3 separate regions of the Homo sapiens genome follow, and regions 1 and 2 are each linked to region 3. The links are contacts of gene promoters, found by promoter capture Hi-C in blood cells and fetal thymus (Javierre and others, 2016). All regions are on one chromosome and are shown on one strand. The core of a region is centred on a gene start or on the middle of the fragment in contact, and the rest is flanking DNA. Distances in the headings are between cores, read along the strand shown.

What was found. Contacts are between HindIII fragments. The CHiCAGO score rates a contact against its expected background, and 5 or more counts as called.
Region 1: a fragment that was not itself captured here is called in contact with the fragment with the promoter of PIWIL1 in region 3 in 3 of 17 cell types (naive CD4 T cells, activated CD4 T cells and total CD4 T cells); the score reaches 8.6 in naive CD4 T cells.
Region 2: a fragment that was not itself captured here is called in contact with the fragment with the promoter of PIWIL1 in region 3 in 3 of 17 cell types (naive CD4 T cells, activated CD4 T cells and non-activated CD4 T cells); the score reaches 9.4 in naive CD4 T cells.

What each region holds. Positions count from the first base shown.
Region 1 is chr12:130,002,624-130,007,078 of GRCh38, forward strand. No RefSeq gene overlaps it. Among named protein-coding and RNA genes, the nearest start is that of LINC02418, 37 kb to the right of the region's middle. The HindIII fragment of the contact is 2,920 bases long and covers 988-3,907 here.
Region 2 is chr12:130,073,582-130,077,603 of GRCh38, forward strand. No RefSeq gene overlaps it. Among named protein-coding and RNA genes, the nearest start is that of LINC02419, 4.3 kb to the left of the region's middle. RefSeq lists an enhancer at 2,017-2,544. The HindIII fragment of the contact is 953 bases long and covers 1,901-2,853 here.
Region 3 is chr12:130,336,112-130,340,264 of GRCh38, forward strand. PIWIL1 (piwi like RNA-mediated gene silencing 1) reads left to right here and starts at 1,776. Exons shown (of 21, transcript NM_004764.5): 1 at 1,776-2,035. LOC101927786 (a long non-coding RNA gene) reads right to left here and starts at 129. Exons shown (of 3, transcript XR_242978.5): 1 at 1-129. The HindIII fragment of the contact is 10,112 bases long and covers 1-4,153 here.

The DNA of each region.
Region 1 (4,455 bases), core at 1,198-3,697, 330 kb before region 3:
ACTCTAGTGACAGGTGACACCGACACAGATATAAACTCAGCTTCTCAGCCTCCCTTTATCCCTCTAGACCCATTCTTTACCCCTCTGCCTATTGCAGGTCCCAGGAAGCTGCATTCAATGGAAGTTTAGCCCATGGATGTACCTGACATGAGGCTGATAGATCAGAGGAAAAAGAGATTAGGTATTTTCCTCCCGCCCTTGCTGCCAGCCACATTCTCTCAGCACACCATCTCCTGCAGCTCACAGTCACTGGGCTCCAGAAATAGGCTGCCTCCCCAGCCCTTTCAGCCTGGGGGATGGTCACTCCCCTTTACTCTGTGGGTGCCTCCTTGTCCTTCTGGGATTCATTAACTCTACTTGCTCCTCTGGACACAGTTCCTTCATGCAGCTTGCTCCAATGAACTCTCCAAGAGTGGGGTCTGTTTCCTTGCAGTATTTTCCTTTGGGAGGTGTGAGGCTGGGAGATTCCTCTTAGCACTGTGTATTGCCTCATTCTGCTGACAGGAATGGGTATTATCGGTTCAATCAAAGCATAATAACGAACCTGGGCAGAGGTTCATGGCAAAGAAGAGACCGAGCTCCAGGTGCTGCTTGGAAAACCAGTGCCCAGCAGCTCAAAGCTTGGAGAATTGCAGCCACTGAAAATTCATTTTTCAGTTGAACCCGGAATCCTCATGATGAAATGATGTTCAAAGGAAAGGGCATTCTTTATTCTGTTGGGAGAATCTGGTTCATCCTGAGCTCCCAGCACCATGCCGATTTACAGGAACAGTCAGAAGAAGTTCCACAGTTTGCCCCTACAGTCCCACAAAGAAAATTTCCCCCAAGGCCCTGCTTTGCCCGCTGCTCTGAGTTTTATTACTGTGCTTAAACATGGAGAGGGATCTACGAGCATTGTCCAAATCCCCCCTCCTTGGAAAACTGTTTTACATAAATAGCTAGAATGACAACACGTCCCTGGACTGCTTCACATCAATGATTGGAGAAAGCTTCATCCTTACCACCAACTCCCCTCCAACACTCACATGCCTATTTTGTTCTTATATGCCTGGGTCATTCTGTGTAGTATAAAGGAGACATTTCTGGAAAGATATCTCAAAATGAAGGAAAAAAACTAGGACTTTTAAGGACTGGAAATAGCAGCTACAGTGGTTTGGATGGGGAAAAATGGGACTGAGGACATGGGAAAACCTGACCTCTGTAAGCCCCATTCCCGCATCTGTTGAAAAATCAAGCAAAACAGGCCACAGGATGATCGCATGAATTCCATGTGATAACATGTGTGCAGAGCCAGGCATGCAGCAGGTGCTTAATAATGTGAGTTGAATTATAAACCTCTCTCCATAACTAAATCGTTGTCATAATTATTTTAGTTATAATGGCTAAAAATAGCTCAAACTTATCTAGGAGTCAATTATTTGAAAACTCGAGGGATAGATGGGTTTCAGGAGCCGCTTGATCCAGGAACACCCACAGTGTCTCAGGGACTCAGTGTTCCTGTCTCCACATGAGCTTTTTCCCCAGATCCCACACGGTGGGCAGATGGCAGCCAACAGCTCCAAACCAAATGCCATTCAGGTCAAGCCTGGGGGAAAGTGTGAGGGAGTGTTTCTTTTGCAATAGGTAAATAAAACAACAAAATCAACTTAGCTTCTTTCAGTCCCATAGGTTCTAATTGATTACATGCTTATCCCTGAACCAATATCCTTAGGGGCAGGAGATGCTGATTGATCAGGCCTGAGTCACATGACTACTCCTGAACCAATATCCTTAAGGGAATGTGAAGCTCTGATTGATCAGGCCTGTGTCACGTGACCACTCTTGAGCCAATATCCTTAGGGGAATGAGATCCTTTGATTGATCCGGCCTGAGTCACGTGACCATTCCTGAACCAATATCCTTAGGGGAATGTGAAGCTCTGATTGATCAGGCCTGAGTCATGTGACCACTCCTGAGCCAATATCCTTAGGGGAATGAGATCCTTTGATTGATCAGGCCTGAGTCACATGACCACTCCTGAACCAATATCCTTAGGGGAATGTGATCCTCTGATTGATCAGGCCCATGTCACGTGACCACTCTTGAGCCAATATCCTTAGGGGAATGAGATCCTTTGATTGATCAGGCCTGAGTCACATGACCACTCCTGAACCAATATCCTTAGGGGAATGTGATCCTCTGATTGATCAGGCCTGAATCTTATAACCACTTCTGGAACAGGAGCTGGGTTCAGCTCCACCTGAAGCACATGAGCTGAGTGAGAGAAGGGGTGACCTTTGCCAAGGCAAATCAATCCCTCCGGCCTGGAGAAGAGTAAACGGATATCAGAAAACCAGACGACTGTTTTCCACTATAATCCACCACCCACAAAACAGTCTGCTTGGCAGAAAGTGTTGTTGGATATTTGTTTTTGTCTCCTTAACAATCCCCTTTGCCCAAGAACAGTAACCCCTTTCTTCTGGAAACTGGCCCTTGCCTCCCTGTCTTTGAATCTGGCTTACACGTAAGCTATATAGTGTTTTTACTTGACGAGAAAAGGCTTGGCAGAGAACCATTTTCTAAGCCTCAGTTTCCTTATTTGTAACAGGAAATAAGAATAACCCTTGCCTCATGGAGCCATTTTGAAGATTAAATGAGATAATCTGTGTAGACCAATCAGAAGATTAAATGAGATAATCTGTGTAGACCAATATCCGAAATATTGGAGGTGCTTCATCAACTTTAGATGTTTTTATTACGAGTAGACTGATGGCATTTGGAAAGAGTAGAACATAAAGATAATTCCAGGTGGGTTTGGAAACTTATTTCTAGAAACAAGGCAAGTCTTAGACTTACCTCCCATGTTCTATCTTCCAAATATTTTGGTGCAGCCTGATATTGTAATCAGTCTTAGACTCTTAGATAGCTGACGTAAGATCATTCTTTTTCCCTTAGTCAACTGTTTTTGTGGCACTGCTAAGAACTTGTCTTTGTAGTGTTGCATGCTCTATTCAAAACCCCCTTGAGGAAGAATTGATGAGTTGAAGTGTTTTCAAGGACTATTATGGATCTGGAAATGTACAAGTGACCCAGGGATTTGTCATTCCTCTGCCATTATAGTCTCAATGTCTATGCAAAGAATGTTCCCATCTGAACCTCAGGGCACCTGGCAATGTCTTGCAAGGCGGGTTTGCTGCCCACGGCCTTGAGACACCACAGTCCTGTAGGATGCACCTGTCCACCCGGTTAGGAACAGTGTACAGAGACAGCTCTCCCTACACCGAGGAAATGTCACATCTTCACCTTACAAGATGTGACACTTTCCATTTCAACCGACAAAACCCAACCCAGCCTCACCTAACCCAAAAGCTAACTTATTAACTCAGATAACCGTGAAGCCCAGGGGATGGCCAGATTACAGTGGCTGGATCCAGATTTCACATAATTATCACCAGGAGGTGGTGTCTTTCGGTGACATGGTTCTATTAATCGCTTTAGCTGTTCCAGGCTCAAACTCCACTTGGTGGTGGGATGCCTCACCCCACCTTTGCGTTCCCATCCTCATCCTCAAAGCCTCACCACCCTCGAGGGTCCTCAGTAGGTCTTTGGTAGCCAGATCTGCTGCTCTGGACTGTGGGTGGCTCTGGTCCAAGTTCCCTTGAGTTGCCAGTGTCCATGGCCTTCAGAAACAGACAGAGCTGTCAGAAGTGGCAGGGAGCCTATAGCTAGAAGCAAGGAGGGGGACCGACAGCTGAAGGCCACCAGAGAGACCTTTTGTAACCTCAATTAAAACAAAAACAAGAAGGTAGAGAGGGGACTCCTTAAAGCTCCTTGCAAGCAGCAGTATGTCAGAAAATTGTGTGGGACATGGAGCACTTGCTGAGTATTTTAGATCTCCATGTATTTTGCACAAAAAGAAAAGGTAAGAAGCTTTTAATACCAGAAAGTTAGCCGTACCAGTGGTGCTAAGGAATGCTCTTCTCCAATCGAAGCTCCAGAGCCACTCTCCAAAGCTCACCTGGAACGGCTCATCAAATGCAGTGATCAGGGCTGGTCGCTGGGGCCTTCCCGTCTCCTGTCTGCCGCTGCAGCAAACAGAGGGGCAGCTCTCTGCTGCCTTGAGGCTGAGAGGGGGAGCCTCCCCTTGAGGGTGGAGGGGGAGACCTTCCCCACCCACTCTCCCAGAAATATTCCTGGAAGTGCCTTCTCTCTACTCCGCCACTTCTGGCTCATCCCCCAAACCCAGCTCCTCCCTCCAGTCTTTGTGTCCTTCCCCTTCTTCAGGAGGCTAAGATGATAGACACAGCAGAGCTCTGGTGCACGATTTTACGCAGAGGGTGGCAGCCATTTTCAGCTGATGCCCCAGCAGTCTCTTAAGCAGCATCACGCAGTCTCCATTTCTAATGCTACACATTTTCCCCTATGCAGCTTTGTGGGGCTACCCATCTCCAGCGCCGGAACTGAGCCACGACTGGC
Region 2 (4,022 bases), core at 1,127-3,626, 260 kb before region 3:
GGAAACCTCATCTCTACTAAAAATGCAAAAATTAGCTAGGTATGGTGGCAGGTGCCTGTAATCCCAGCTACTCAGGAGGCCCAGGCAGGGGAATTGCTTGAACCTGGGAGGCGGGGGTTGCAGTGAGCCTAGATCATGCCACTGCACTCCAGCCTGGGTGACAGAGTAGGGTCTTTCTCAAAAAAAAAAAAAAGTAACTGAAAGAAAGTACCAAATCAATATTTTACTCAATGATTTATGTTCCTGTAAGAGCTCTGGCCATCTTGCCAGTACACATTGGCACGGGTGTGCACACTTGTCATCAACGCATGCATCATCAGCTGTAAGCAAGAGCCTGCATTTGAATGTAGGTGTGTCCTGGCAGGCCTGAGAAAGCATCAGAGCCCAGAATGAATTCATTTCCTTAAGGAGTTTTAGGAGAAACTTAAGCAATGAAGATGAGAGTTTTGCATTGGTGCCCAGAAGGTTTGGCGAAAGCAACAGGATGCCCTTCCCAGAGGTGGCTGTAGGGGCCTGTGTCTGGGCACTAGAGGATGGAGGCAGTGTGAGAGCCCTATGGGCACTGCTGAGGGGTGCAAAGTGGCTCTCCTTTTGCCAGTTAAGAAGGCGGCTGTGGGGTGCATGCCCGTCAGGCCTGTCATAACCGGCACGAATGATGTTGTCCGACAGGCATGGGGATCTACACAGGAATGAAAACAACTCCAATTTCGGCTACTTTCTATGTGCTGACCGTTGCACTGATGGCTTTAAATATTTTATTCTAAAGCTGTTTCTCACCACGACCCTATAGATGTTATTGTCTCCATTTTATGGCAACGGAATCCCAAAAGGGCAGAGAGGTGGTGAGTGCAGCAAAGGAAACTGTCAAGCAGTCATGAACACGGGGGTCCCAGGAAGCAGAGATCTGGTACGGGTTGTCTACTGCTGGGTCACAAATTACCTCCCAAACTGAGCATCTTAAACAACAAACATTCACTGCTTATTTCTGTGGGTCAGGAGTTTGGGAGCAGCGTAGCTCAGGGGTTCTGGTTTAGGGTCTCTCTGAGGTTGGCCAAGGATGGGCTACCGCCACTGAAGGAGGAGAAGGGGGATCTGCTTCCAAGATGGTGTGCTCACTGGGCTCTGAACGCTTGCATGTCCTCGTGACATGGCCCCTGACTTCTCCCAGAGGGAGTGATCCCCAGAGAGAGCAAGAAGGAGACTACCCTGACTTCCATGACCTAGTCACAGAAGTCACACACCATTGCTTCTGCCATGCTTTATTTCTTAGGAGTGAGTCACTGAGTCTGGCCCACACTCAAGGGGGAGGAATTAGTTTTCACCTCTTGAAGGGTGGAACATCAAATAATGCATTATATTTTAAAGCCACCAGAGATCTCTTTAGAAAATGGGGCTCCACATTGGCCTGTGGGGCTAGTGAGCTGGTGAAGGGCTCCCCCTCCACCCCCGAGGCGGGAGGCACCTGCGGAAACTCAGCGAGGTCACACGATGTGCACATCTCCACTTGACATGAGACACCATGGAGATCAGGGGCCATAGTGTTTTCCCTCCTCCCTGTGCTTTTAGCAGTTTCTAGTCATTTCCTTGTCATCCTCACATTGCTATGAACACTTAGTAATGTGAACACAAACCTCCCAGTGGACTCACATGCTCAGAGGGCACTCAAGACTGGGGGAAGCAATGCAATCACAGCAGCATAAATATTCCTGAAGTCTGGGAGCCTCAAGACAGAAACTAGGTCACCAGGGCCTGCTAGTCTGGAGGAGCTGGTGTGCTCCCTTTAGTGTGCATGTGAATGAAGACACCGTCAGAGATATTCCTAGGGGCCACAAATTCTCCTGCATCCTTGCTTGCTCCTCCGAAGGGAGGGTCAGATGACGTGTGCAGCCTGGCCTCAGAAAGCTTGTGGGCCAAGTCGAATAGTTGCAGATGGGCTGGGACGTCCAGAGTCTGTTGCTCTGGAACAGTTGCTTACAAGTCAATGTATGTCTTTCATTCACCCACAAAACCGCACCATGCAACTCCTATGAGCAATGAAATAAGAACAAGTAATAAGAGACAGTAACCAGGAGATCTGGGACAGAAACACCCACGTGGAGCTATAGTCGCAGTGGATCCTGTGAAGGAAGGGCGTTGAGTAAAGGGACAGAAAGTGACAGAATGTGTTTCAGGTGGGATGGCCAGGGAAAGCCTTGCCACAGAGGAGGCCTACAAGCAAAAGCCTGGTGGGTGGGGGGTTAGGGCTGGAGCAGCTAGGTGCCTCCCAGGGGCAGATGAGGACCTCACAGGCCCCCGCTGGGACTTCAATTGTGTTGTAAACGTGGTTGGGAATGGTGGAGGAGCAGAGGGAGCAGGACCTGTTCTAAGTTTTAGAGGAATTGCTCCCAGCAGAGAACTGGCTTTCAGGGCAAGAATGAGAGCAGGGAGACCAGCAAGGGGGTATGGTCTAGAGAGGAGGATGAGTCTGAGGTGGGGAGACAGAGGTGGAGGGAGACTTCGGTTCAACGGGGATCTGTTTACAGGAAAAGATGACAGGAGTTCCTGATCGATCCAAAAGACAAAAGACAGGGGGTGCAGACTCTGCTGGGATCATCCAGGGCCACAGGGTAGTAGGAGCAACTTCTGGAAGACAGAACTGAGACGGTTTAAGGGATGTCACAGGAAAGAAGAGTTATAGTGTGCAGTAGCTCATCCATTCCTCCCCATGATCCTATGAGCTCGGCCCTGCCATTGCACCCATTTCCCAGATGAGGACACTGAGTCCTAGAGAGGTTAAGTGACTTGCTCATGGTCACAGAGCAGGAGGTGGCAGAGCCAGGGCTCACATGCAGGTATCTCAGGGAAGGACACCCAAGCTTTAAAAAAAAATTTAAAGGATACACTGTCATCCTATTTACTAACAAAATTTAACAAAATGAGACTACAATATTCCTTCTCCAGATGCTGTGGAGTAAATGCAGGATGAAGTCACATTTTCATAATTTTAAAACAGTTCCTAAGATCATCAGTCAGCAAAGTGAAGAACGAGAACCTATTGGAAGGTTCCCTAGGACCTTTCTGTGAATGTCCTGCATTTTCTTTTGTAATACTTTCCATCTCTGGTAAAGTAGATCTGCTTTAAAAGTACTTTATTGTGTTTTGTTCCCGATTATAAAAGTAATATGTATTCATCCTAGAAATAATCACCACTCACAGTTTGGTGTATTTCCTTCTAGTCTTTTTTCCCCTAAAGCATGCATAAGTGCTTGTTTTTGCACGTGTAACTTAATACACATTATAGTGTGTGTCCCATGAAAAGCACGTCTCAAGGAAGTGAGAAGTTGTCTTTGCAAACCCTGATGAGGTGTGAGAGCCCTGGCCAGTGCCAGACAAAGGCAGTCCCAGGAGCCCTCTAAGAATGGAAATCCTGCCCTAGTGGCCCCACGGCTCTACACGCAGACAATATCCGTTTGCTTTTCCTCTTTTACCAGAGAGATTACATCACCATCTACACATTTTTTTTTTTTGGTTGCTGTTATAGACTGTTTTTGAAACAGTTTCCAGACTTCCTGTAGGCTGTTTGTTTTGTAAACGCTTATCCATCTGTCCTTCTCCTTGAGTAAATGGGTCCAGGAAACACCCACTCTTTAGGAACACTCCCCCGTCCACCATTGGGCTTTATTTAATGTGGAGCTAGATCTATATAAAGCAAAATAAAAATACACAAAATGAAAGTGATAGTGATAAGGATGGTGGTGGTCATGGTAGATGCCAGTTTCAAACACAAGTCTATGCCAGGTGCAATGCACTAGTCCATTCTCACGCTGCTATGAAGAAATATCCAAGACTGGATAATTTATAAAGAAAAGTGGTTTAATTGACTCACAGTTCTGTATGGCTGGAAAGACCTCAGGAAACTTACAATCACGGCAAAAGAGGAAGCAAACATGTCCTTCTTTACAAGGCGGCAGGAGAGAGAAGTGCTGAGCAAAGGGGGGAAAAGCTCCTTATAAAACCATCAACTCTCTTAAGAACTCACTCAC
Region 3 (4,153 bases), core at 526-3,025:
CTTCAGCCCTCTCCAGCCCCCGATTCCCAGGCATGCGCTTTTAAGTATGAATAATAAGCAATATGTAGGCCGGGCTCTGTGGCTTATGCCTGTAATCCCTGCACATTGGGAGGCCAAGATGGGTGGATCACTTGAGCCCAGAAGTTTGAGACCGGCCTGGGCAACATGATGAAACCCTCTTTCTACAAGAAATACAAAAAAATTAGCTGGGTGTATTTCTCGTATTTCTACAAGAAATACAAAAAAATTACTACAGGTGGCACACACCTGTAGTACCAGCTACAGGGGAGGCTGAGGCAGGAGGATCACCTGAGCCCAGGAGGTCGAGGCTGCAGGGAGCCATGATCCCACCATTGCACTCCAGCCTGACAGAGCCAGACCCTGTCTCAAAACAAAACAAAGAACACAAAATTATGTGGGCATGGTGGTGGGTGCCTGTAGTCGCAGCTACTCAGGAGGCTGGGAGACGGAGGTTGCAGTGAGCCAAGATCCTGCCACTGCACTCCAGCCTGGGCGACAGAGTGAGACTCCGTCTCACAAAAAAAAAAAAGGAAAAGCACTATGTTTACCGTATAAATGCAGTTTTAAAACCTGTCTGCAGAGGCGACCCTATTTCTACTACCTCCTACAATCATGTTTATAGTTATGGAACATAACAGGTCAGGCAGTTAGTGAGCCTCAGTCCCACTTCCACCTTGACAAATAAACCTGTTCTATCTTACAATATTTCCGGTTGTTTTGTGGCTGTTGACTTTGCCTCCATGAGGAAATTAACTCCTATGGAGGGCACCTAGCTCGGCGTAGACCCGGTCGCTACCACCTGCGATGCCTTGGAAATGCAGCCGGCGGGGCCCACCTGTGGAGCCTGCAGACCGGAATCTCTGGTCTGTGTCCTAACCAGCCCTGCAGGTGATCCCCCGCAGGTGAAGGCTGAGAACCCCTGCGGTCCACGTTGGCATGCACCCAAGGCACAAGTCATTGAAAGCTAAATTTCCAGGTAACGGCCTCCTGGCACCTTAGACTTGCATTGCAGTTTTATTTTCTTTGGGGTCAAAGTTCAAATCTCTGTGTGCTGAGTGAAAGAGCTTCCGACGTTAAAGGCCAGACCAAGATCGAGTCCACTGCTACAGTAGGGCGCTCGGTGCCCACGTGGGCACCATTTCGAAGTCTATGGAGGGTCTACTTCGTGCGCCGCCGCCCAGTTCCACGAGCTAGTAGGGAACTGGCCCGACCCCGTGTCCGCCTGCAGGGGGCTGGCACTGGGGGAACTGCAGGAGTCAAGCCAGGGAAGGCCGGGGGTCTGGGCGAAGCAGAAGAGGAACAGGGCGGGGCCTGGGTGGGGCTGGCCGGGGCCTGTGGGGAGGGGGCAGGGCACGTGTTGGGTGTCTGGGCGGGGCCAGGCGGGGTCTTGGGGGGACAGGGGCGGAGCCTGTGGGGCGGGGGCGGGGCCTGTGGGGGCCTGGGCGTGGCGTCTAGGCAGGGCCAGGCGGGGTCTTGGCGGGATGGGGGCGGGGCCTATGGGGAGGGGCCAGGGCATGTGCGGGGTGTCTGTCCGGGGCCAGGCGGTGTCTTGGGGGGCCAGGGGCAGGGCCTGTGGGGCGGGGCGGGCCTGGCTTGTTGGGCCTGTGCCGGGTGTCCGGGAGGGGCCAGACGGGGTCTTGGAGGGGCGGGGCCGGGGCCTGTGGGGCGGGGCTCCTCTGGTCCCGCCCCGGCCACATCAGAAACCGCCGTTTGCGGGGCAGCCAATGAGGGCGTGGCGCGCGCCGCTTTCCGCCGTTACTGGGCGTATGGCGTACAGACACGAGGCCGGCGCCCGGGAGGCGGTGTTCATCCGCCCGGGAAAAGAGCGCCTGTTGCTCGCTGCCCGCGTGTCCCTGGCTCTCTCGGGAACCCAGCGCCGAAGGCGAGGTGGGCGCGGGCCGAAGGAGGTCCTGGGAGGTCGGCGGCGCGGAGGGATCTCCGCGGGAGCCGTTGGGGCTGTTGGCCTCGGGCTGAGGTGCAAGGACCAGGACTAGGGCGAGGGCAGCGGTCCAAGGTGCGGGGCCAGGCTGAGGTGCTAGGTGTGCGGGGGCCGGGATGCGGGGGCGGCGGCTGGGGGTCCGGGATGTGGAGGTGAGGCTCGAGGTGCGGGGACCGGGTTGCGGGGGCGAGGTCCCAGGTGCGGGGGATGCAGGAGCCGGGTGCGGGGTCGAGGTCCCAGGTGCGGGAGATGCAGGAGCCGGGTGCGGGGGCGAGGTCCCAGGTGTGGGAGATGCAGGAGCCGGGTGCGGGGGCGAGGTCCCAGGTGCAAGGGATGCAGGAGCCGGGTGCGGGGGCGAGGTCCCAGGTGCGGGAGATGCAGGAGCCGGGTGCGGGGGCGAGGTCCCAGGTGTGGGAGATGCAGGAGCCGGGTGCGGGGGCGAGGTCCCAGGTGCGGGAGATGCAGAAGCCGGGTGCGGGGGCGAGGTCCCAGGTGTGGGAGATGCAGGAGCCGGGTGCGGGGGCGAGGTCCCAGGTGCGGGGGATGCAGGAGCCGGGTGCGGGGGCGAGGTCCCAGGTGTGGGAGATGCAGGAGCCGGGTGCGGGGGCGAGGTCCCAGGTGCGGGGGATGCAGGAGCCGGGTGCGGGGGCGAGGTCCCAGGTTTGGGAGATGCAGGAGCCTGGGGTGCAGGGGCCGGGGTGCGGGGGCGATGTATCAGGTGTGGGGGGTGCGGGGCCGGGGGGAAGCGCTGAGGCCCGACTTGCCGGGGCTGTAGGGCCGGGGTGCGGGGGTGCAGGGGCCGGGGTGCGGGGGCGAGGTCCCAGGTGCAGGGGCCGGGGTGAGAGGCTGAGGCCTGAGTTGCCGGGGGTGCGGGGGCGGAGGTCTCCGCATTGGCGGCCGTGCGTGAGACTGCGGGGACCTGAGAGCTCTGCAGGAGGGCCTTCGGGACCTCCCGCACTACCCACGCGGCCGCGGGGCGCGATCTCTGCGGAGGGCGAGGGCCCCTTCCCGCGTCCGCCGCCGCTGCGCTGCGCCCCCGGGAGCCTTGGGAGCCGGACGTTGGGAAGAGGACGGAACTCCGGAGGACCCCAAGTGAGGCGGCGACCGCGACGGCCGGGCTCTGCGAGGCCCGGGGGTCCTCGCGGGTGCTGGCGGCCCGGCCCTTGGCACCTGTGGAGGGAAAGGGGCGGCGGGGCGGTGGCGTCCTGGGATGGATGCTCTCGCCGTCTTCAGCCCCGGCGGCCTCCAGGGCAAAGCCGGCTGCACCCCTGCGCAGCCTGTTCTCTGAGCGCTTTTCTTTTCGTTTTTAAGTTGTGGCCAGAGAGACCCCGCTCGCATAGAATGTACCGCTCAACGGTTTTTAGGCGTGTGGCGCGGTGGTGGTTCCCACGTGCACGGCGTGGTCCTGAGCTCAGCGCCGGAGGGACGTTAGGTGGAAGCGTCTTTGGCAGAGCTGGTAGCGAATCGGAGAGGTGATTTCCAGCGAGTGTGGTTATTGGAAGCACACACTTGCTTTCTGACTTTAAGAATTCAATATCCAGACTGAGGTGGTTTTGAAACTGGAAGGAGATAAAGCTGAAAACCAGAGTTGTGCTGGGAAACCTGGACGTAGAGCGCTGAGCCCCCCAGGTATTTAGTGACCAGCACAGCGCGCCGCCGTGGGTTTCAGGCCCTGGAGATGATGAGAATCAGCTGGAGGGCTGCTTCCAGTCGGCTTCTAACTCGGGAGGGCTGAGAGCCGCTCCCCACCCCGTAATTTCTGTTCCCAGCCAGTCCAGATGCTGCCCGTCAGGGACCAGGCTTTGAGAACTGACGTGCTGCTTTAGGAATATTTCCTGCTGGAGATGAGAGTTCAGCTTGTCACTGTTTTTTAATCACTGTTTCACACCGTTGTTTGTAAGGTGTCAAGCGACGGACTGGGTGCAAAGGCATCAATTGTGATTCGCAGCCTAGTTGGAGAAGCTATGGAGTGCAGAGATGTGGGGAGGGAGAAAACAGGTTACCATGTAGTAGGGTGACCGTGGTCACGCCGGGGAAACGGCTTTCGGAGAAGGGAGCAAGGGATGGCCTGCGAGCTGGTCCTTAAGCGGTTCACTGGATTCTTGTGGTTTCAGAGGAGGGTGAGGCTTTGTTAGCAGAGGGTGTGCCACGGTGTAGGGTGAGTCACGGAATTGATAGTGATAGGAAGCAAGT